Linked DNA regions of Homo sapiens: region 1 is linked to region 2. The links are contacts of gene promoters, found by promoter capture Hi-C in blood cells and fetal thymus (Javierre and others, 2016). All regions are on one chromosome and are shown on one strand. The core of a region is centred on a gene start or on the middle of the fragment in contact, and the rest is flanking DNA. Distances in the headings are between cores, read along the strand shown. Region 1 overlaps RNF103-CHMP3 (RNF103-CHMP3 readthrough). Region 2 holds the start of POLR1A (RNA polymerase I subunit A).

The links. Contacts are between HindIII fragments. The CHiCAGO score rates a contact against its expected background, and 5 or more counts as called.
Region 1: a fragment that was not itself captured here is called in contact with the fragment with the promoter of POLR1A in region 2 in 1 of 17 cell types (fetal thymus); the score reaches 5.3 in fetal thymus.

Annotation. Positions count from the first base shown.
Region 1 is chr2:86,619,424-86,622,976 of GRCh38, reverse strand. It overlaps RNF103-CHMP3 (RNF103-CHMP3 readthrough), which reads left to right. Exons shown (of 8, transcript NM_001198954.1): 3 at 2,508-2,647. The coding sequence starts at 2,516. It overlaps RNF103 (ring finger protein 103), which reads left to right. Exons shown (of 4, transcript NM_005667.4): 1 at 1-316; 2 at 2,508-2,647. The coding sequence starts at 91. Among named protein-coding and RNA genes, the nearest start is that of RNF103, 2.7 kb to the left of the region's middle. RefSeq lists silencers at 1-61, 242-291. The HindIII fragment of the contact is 3,027 bases long and covers 453-3,479 here.
Region 2 is chr2:86,103,854-86,107,556 of GRCh38, reverse strand. POLR1A (RNA polymerase I subunit A) reads left to right here and starts at 1,671. Exons shown (of 34, transcript NM_015425.6): 1 at 1,671-1,857. The coding sequence starts at 1,781. PTCD3 (pentatricopeptide repeat domain 3) reads right to left here and starts at 1,322. Exons shown (of 24, transcript NM_017952.6): 1 at 1,206-1,322. The coding sequence starts at 1,309. RefSeq lists enhancers at 1,012-1,271, 1,652-1,861, 2,062-2,151. The HindIII fragment of the contact is 4,349 bases long and covers 943-3,703 here.

The DNA of each region.
Region 1 (3,553 bases), core at 717-3,216, 520 kb before region 2:
CCAAGCTGCCACCGAGCCGCGGCCCCCGCCCTCGACCCTTCTCTCTCCCGTATTCCGAGCTCTCTGGAAAGAGAGGAAACTCCAGGGAAGATGTGGCTGAAGCTTTTTTTCTTGCTCCTCTATTTCCTGGTCCTGTTCGTCCTGGCCAGGTTTTTTGAGGCCATTGTGTGGTATGAAACTGGCATCTTTGCCACCCAGCTGGTGGATCCGGTGGCGCTGAGCTTCAAGAAGCTGAAGACCATTTTGGAGTGCCGGGGGTTGGGCTACTCAGGGTTGCCCGAGAAGAAGGATGTCCGGGAGCTGGTGGAAAAGTCAGGCGAGTATCGGGCTTCCCCTAGGGTCCCCTCCACCTGGGAGAGGGGACGACCTGTACCTCCTGGTACCTGGCTGTTCCCCCAGAGTGAGGCCTTTCCTGGAAGCGTTAAAGCTGCCCAGGTTTCTTCGTCCAAGCTTCCTACAATCAAGTATGCGGATCCCAGCTTTGAGGAGGAGTCTGAAATTATTTGGAGGAGTGTTGGTGTATCCTTTTAAGGTTATCGTAAAATGACAGTTTAAAGTGTGGCTTCTTAGCGTTGTTTACTAAGTTGAGTGATTTTCTCAAAATTCTGGAATATCAACTAGTTACAAACTGGAAAGCATTATTTGTCAGTTGAAGTTCATAAAAACGTAAGAAAAACTCCAAAACGTTGTCTGTCAATAGCAATATTTGTCACGATAGTAATAATAAGATACCCAGAGTGGGGACACATCTTTGGAATACTTACTATCAGAGGCACTTGGGCCTAGGATTTAAATGTTAAATCATGAGTTTGAATATAGACAGTATACACCGTACAGTATTAGCTTTTCAGACTTTAAGTTTGGTGAAAATAAGGCGAGCATTTTGTATAAATGCCTGCCATGTTCGAGTTTATATTATATTTCTGTTAGGATTTTTAAAAATTTGCATCTTGGATGTGTAAAAGAAAAATTTTTTTTGTCTTCTGTGTCACAGGTACCCTTGCATTGTTTAATGGGTTGAGAAATATACGTGAAATAGTGCTGAGAGAATATTCAATGTCTTAAAGAATGTGTTTTTAGTAATTGTTGGTTTTGGTAGGATTGGGTGAGAAATATGGTTAATTTTTTTCACTGCTGCACAAAGTATATCTTTGGATATACTTCCTGAAAGTGGAATGTAATTTGAGAAAGGCTTTCTGCGTTGCTGTGGGAAGCAGCTGAAACTGATGGTTATCTTTTTTGTTGTTTCAAGTATTTTTGTCAGCTGTATCTTTTACAAGACAAATCTTTTCCTTCTTTAGTACCTTATAGACATGTAGCGTGATAGACAAGAGTATGAGCTCGCTAGCAGTTTAACACTTGGATATTTGTAGGTTGCGGGTTATAAAACTCATATCTCACTATTAGGGTAGAGGAGAGGAACACACTCTGCAGAAGTGATAAATGTTTCTTTAGAGAAAATATAAAATCGTATATTATTCTTGCCCCTTGTTTGCTGACTGGTTTATGGCGATTCTTATTTCTACCATAGGGGGAAGAAGTGGAGTAACTAGGGTAAAAGATCTCTAATAAATAAACTCTCTTGGTTTAGAGATGAGAAGTGTCTCAACTGCCAAAGCCATCATTTTTTTATGGAAAATAATTTGGTCACACATTTTTTTTTCTTTTGACTGTTATTTATTATTGCCTTCTTTTGGGCCTAAAAATACTTGGCACATTGAATGTACTAGAAGTCCACATTTAACTTTAAGACGCACAGCCCAGTATGACTCAAATCACACGTTTTATGGCAGAAAAGTCATGGTATAGCAGTTTAAAATTTAAGTGTTTATTGTGAATGGTTTTGCTGCTATCATGGTGCAGTACTTGGTTTCTCACTGTTTAATATTTAAGGCGAAAGTTAAAATAATTTGATTTTAGTGTTTTCCTTTCCTTTTTGTTTAATGATACAAGCTCTAAATTTATAATATAAATTTGTATATGAATATGGAGTTTGTTCTGTCTAACAGGTAAAGTTCTAACCTCCAAGTCATACAAACCCTGTTGCTCTTTTAAGCAGGGCTGATGGCAAATTCTGTGAACCCAATTCTACATCTTTTAAGTAAGAAGCATATAAGCCATACTGTTTAAAAATGTATATGAAGCCTGTATGTGTCATTCATAAAACTAAATAATTAAGAAAGTTGTGCCTTTTTGGAGTGGTACAAATTTGGTAAGTTCCTAATAATTATGTGATAACCCCACTAAAATATAAGCCCTGTTCTATAAGAGATGGATTTTTGTCTATTTTGTTCACTTTTCCCTGATGCATAGGAAGTTCTTACTACATATTTATTGAATGTATGACTCCTAAGTGGGTATATCCAGGTTCTTCTAGTAGTTCTTGTCTATAAAATACAATGAAAGTACAATATCATGATTCTTAACAGTGTAAAAAATAGAATTACTGAAATTGGGAATCTAGGATTCTTGCAACCTTATTAGTGTTATTCTTTTCCTTTCTTCAGGTGACTTGATGGAGGGTGAGCTCTATTCTGCTCTCAAGGAAGAAGAAGCATCCGAATCGGTTTCTAGTACCAATTTCAGTGGTGAAATGCACTTCTATGAGCTTGTGGAAGACACAAAAGATGGCATCTGGCTGGTTCAGGTATGAAAAGCAGTAATAATTTGATAATTCGAGAGCCCTAAAAAAATTATTTTTACCAAAATAGTATGTACCAGCCAGTGACACTTCCGTGTCCTTGTGTCTTGTTTCTCACACATAACTCAGTTCTCTTAGGGAGGCTCCAGTATCTTCTTAAAAAGGTTTTGGAGACTGAGGAAGATGAAAATTGAGTAGTGGGAAAGAGAAAGATGGGGGATGGGGGTCAACTTTTTGTTTAGAATCCCCAGAAGCAAATCTATTTTAGTTATTGGACCTTTGTTGAATTGAGAAATACACATATATATCCCTTTTATTTAGTGATTTGCACTGTTTCTCTTAGTTTTTATTATCTCCAGTTTTTAATTCAGTGGCCTGAGTAATTTTTATATATAAGTAAGAACCCTAAAGTAAAAGTAAAGGAATCATTGTATTAGGGAAATAGCCAACTTTGTGACTATAGAGGAGCTGTTGTGGAAAATGGTGGGGGTGCTCATTACGTAACTCAGGATGATGAGATTATAATTTTTAACCCTTGTTTTTATGATAGCAAAACTGTGAGACTTAATTAGCATATTAGAATTTTAGAGCTATGATGGACCTTAAAAATATTTTATGCTTTCCAAGATGTAATTTATGGTGAGTGGGCATGCATTATCATTTACATATTTTAATGTAAATTAGAAAAATTATATTAACATAAATTTCATAAATTTTGCTTAGGACAGGACTAAAGTTATTTACATTTTAAAACTGTACATTCAAAGTGACATATCAAGTAAATTAACAGCGTGAATGTGGCTAAAATTATTAATGTAGTCTGTGAATGGCTGAAGCTTGGAAATTATATCAGACTAACCCTTTCTGAGACTCTGAGAGGTGAAGTAGCTTGCCCAAGGTCATGGAACTAGT
Region 2 (3,703 bases), core at 422-2,921:
AAAAACACAGTCAACACACCACAGATAATGTGACGGTTAGTATTATCTTGTGTTTCCCCTTACTAAATGGCATCAGTAACATTCAGAAAATTGTCAAGATGTGATTGCACAGACAGATACTTCCTCCAGTAGTATCTGGTTTCAGGTATCATTTAAAACAAGAATACCCCTCTACGTTAAGGACATTTCAGAAAGAGATCAACTCTTTCAAGTTTCTGAGATCAACTCTTTCAAGTCACACTATTTGTTTCTCATGACCTTAAAACAGAGATCACAGTTATTTTGAGAACGGATGCTGAGGAAGAGATTCTGCTTCAGGCAAAGAAAATGAGTAGAAAAATGCTAACGATGGCTACCAGGAAACGGAGGACTGGCATTGAATGGCAGCACAAAGGTTTCTGCAGTATCAGATGGAGTGGTTTCTCTTTCTTGAGGGGAACTAAGGGAGAGTACATATAAAAACATATTGTAAATTACATACCCCACTTATACCTCACAAACTTTTCGGATGGTTATTACCAACTCTAGTCTGCAGATGAGGAAATCTGTCTATTATCATCCAATTAAGTGAATGGCAAACACTAAACCTAAAATTAGGCTTTTAGCAAGTTTTCACTACAAATTACTGCCTCTCATATTCCCACAATGCCACTGTTTGTACTGAGTGAAAAAAAAATTACACAGATAGGTCATACATGTTCCAAGCTATAACTATCACAGATCAAAAGGGCATAGTCAGATCTTTTAGACTTTTCTGCTTTTACGAAAACCTGATAACTTCTTTAGCCAAAGTCCCCACGGTGGCGACCAGAGACTGCCTTTTATTTGGGAAGATCTTGTACGTTCTCCTCGCTCCTCCTGATTGGGTTAAAATGAGTAATGGCGGATAATTTTTAATTTGGGGTAGTGTTGCTAATAGCCACACTCACTGGAACGCAAGCTTCATGAGAGCAGGGTCCTAGCTTTGCGGATGGTGTTAACTACAGAATATTGCAAGCAACCAATAAGTATTTCTCTAATGAATAAATGCGTTGCGAATCCTATTTCAAAGGGCCACCTCCGCGTACCTGGTCTTAAGGGCACGCGACCGTTAAGGGCGCGCATGAGCAAACCATTTCATCGTGCCTACTTCCACAGCCAGCTGGGAAACATAGGACTAAGGTGACTCCGCGGTCTTCTTCGCGGATACCCTAAGCGTCTCTTACCTGCAGCTGCGTGCCTGTTCACACAAACCCGCCCGCCGACCCGTCAGCGGCTGGCCAAGCCTGCTGCGGAGGCCCAGCCAGCGAACAGCAGATACAACCGCCATCTTTGATTTCTCTGCAGAGCATGTTGGGAAAGCGTGCCTCGACCTTCAGGAAGGTGGGGCGCAGTGGGCGGGGAGCAGGGAACAGCTCCGCTATTGGCTGAAGCGGAAGAAGACGAAAGCAATCATAAAATGGGAGGTTGCAAGCTCATGGTTTGAAAGACTTCGTCACGGAAGCTAAAAGCTCTATACACCCGATTTGCCTCGGAGGAATTTTCCTAAATGATTATTTTGATGTCTTATATATCTTTGATTGTTTTCAAAACAAAAGAGCGAGCAGAGAGTCGTACAACTATTTGTTCCCCCCCCATGTAGAAGTGATCTCATCCACGTAAATGTCGTTCCTGCGACCGCTTCCGCGCGCAAGCGCACGTTGAATCGCGTGGTGACTCCGGGCTTGAGGTTGAATTAAGAATAGTCAGGTGGTGAGTGGAACGTCTCTTGGGGTGTCGGAATTCAAAACGGACCTGGAGGATGTTGATCTCCAAGAACATGCCCTGGCGGCGGCTGCAGGGCATTTCCTTCGGGATGTATTCGGCTGAAGAGCTCAAGTAAGGAGTTGGTCGGGTAGCGTGCCCAGCCTGGATCTTGAGGTCGGCGCCCTAAACTACGATTCCCAGAAGCGCTTTTGCCCAGTCTATCCTCTTGAGTCCAGGCTTGTCTGGCGCTTGTCCTGCTGGGAGCCGTAGTTCTGGGAACGTTCCTGGGCCGGCGTGGACTGCCTGGATAAGAGGCCGGTGGTGCTGGGGGAAAGAGTTTGCGCTGAGGTAGGGGAATATAAGGGTGGGGAGGGTCCTGGTCTGCAGCGTTATCATCTGCCAGTCTCCTCGTTAACTAACAAGCATTTGTGGAATTAACCATAGTGTACCTGACATGGTTAATTAGGCACGTAGTAAGTTTCCTCTTGTTTGTAAAATGATTGTCCTTCAAGTGTCAGTTCAGGCGTTAACTTCTCTTTGCTAGGACCCTGCTATATTCTCGGTCTGGTTGTTAAATCAAGGGAACTCTCTTTAGTCTTCATTTTGATCAAGGTAGCATTTGACATTCTCCAATGCACTCTCTTGAAACTTTCCTTTCTTCCAGAACCTTATTTGTCTTCAAGTTCTCCTATTTTTATGACAAATACTTCTACCTCCCTCTCTTCCTCTATCGATCTATAACCTCACAAACATTTATTGAGCATCCAGTTTTTTCCAGGCACCAAGCTAGGCGTTAATGACACATTGGTGAGCAAGGTCTGTACCTCATTTTACTCCTTAAATGTTGATGTTCTTCAAGATTCTATTCTAGTAATGTTTTCTTCATGGTAAATATTGTCCCTAGACAATCTCACCACTTTCATGATTTATAGTCTCAAATTTAAATCCCCAACGCAAATTTATTTCCCTGATTTTCAGACCCATTTGTTCAGCTGTCTGTACATCTTTAATTGAATTTCACACAGAGATCTTAAATGCATATCAAAAACTCAACATGGCCTAAATGCATATCAGAAACTCAACATGGCCGGGCACGGTGGCTCACGCCTGTAATCCCAGCACTTTGGGAGGCCGAGGCCGGCGGATCACGAGGTCGGGAGATCGAGACCATCCCTGGCCAACATGGTGAAACCCCGTCTCTACTAAAAATACAAAAATTAGCTGGGCGTGGTGGCGGGCACCTGTAGTCCCAGTTACTCGGGAGGCTGAGGCAGGAGAATCGCTTGAACCCAGGAGGCGGAGGTTGCAGTGAGCCGAGATTGTGCCACTGCACTCCAGCCTGGCGACAGAGCAATACTCTGTCTCAAAAAAAAAAAAAAAAAAACTCAACACGGCATCCCTCTTCAAAGGGAGGGGTTACTTACCCCTCCAAAATGGTGTACGTAGTGCAAAATAGTCACTAGAAACTGGAAAATTATTCTAGATCTCTCCTGACATATAACTTATTTATTGGGCTCTTACTTTGTGTCACCTACATGTCTATTTGTTCTTAGTCTCCTTTTTCTCCCAATTGCTACTGTGTTGCCTCTGGCCCTTATCTCATATTTGAATTGTCTTTTCCTTCCACCCTCCCCTTACACCTCTCAAGTGCATGCTCCACACTGCTGTCAAAATTATTCTTGCAAAGTGCAAATGTAGTCATGCTACTGTCACCCTTAAAACCCTCCAAATGTTCTCCATTTCCCTCAGATAAAGTATATTTTCTTAGCATAGCCTGCAAAGTCTCCCATGATCAGACCAATGCTGATTTTAGCTATAACATCATCCCTTCTTCAGCCCTATTAAACCACCTGCATATTCCAGAAACCGCCATCATATTTCAACATCTGGGCCTTTCTTTAAGCTATTCCCTCTGCATGCAGTGTCCTTTCAGCCAAAAGGAGGTACTTCCCTCTGTCCCCTACCCAACATACACACC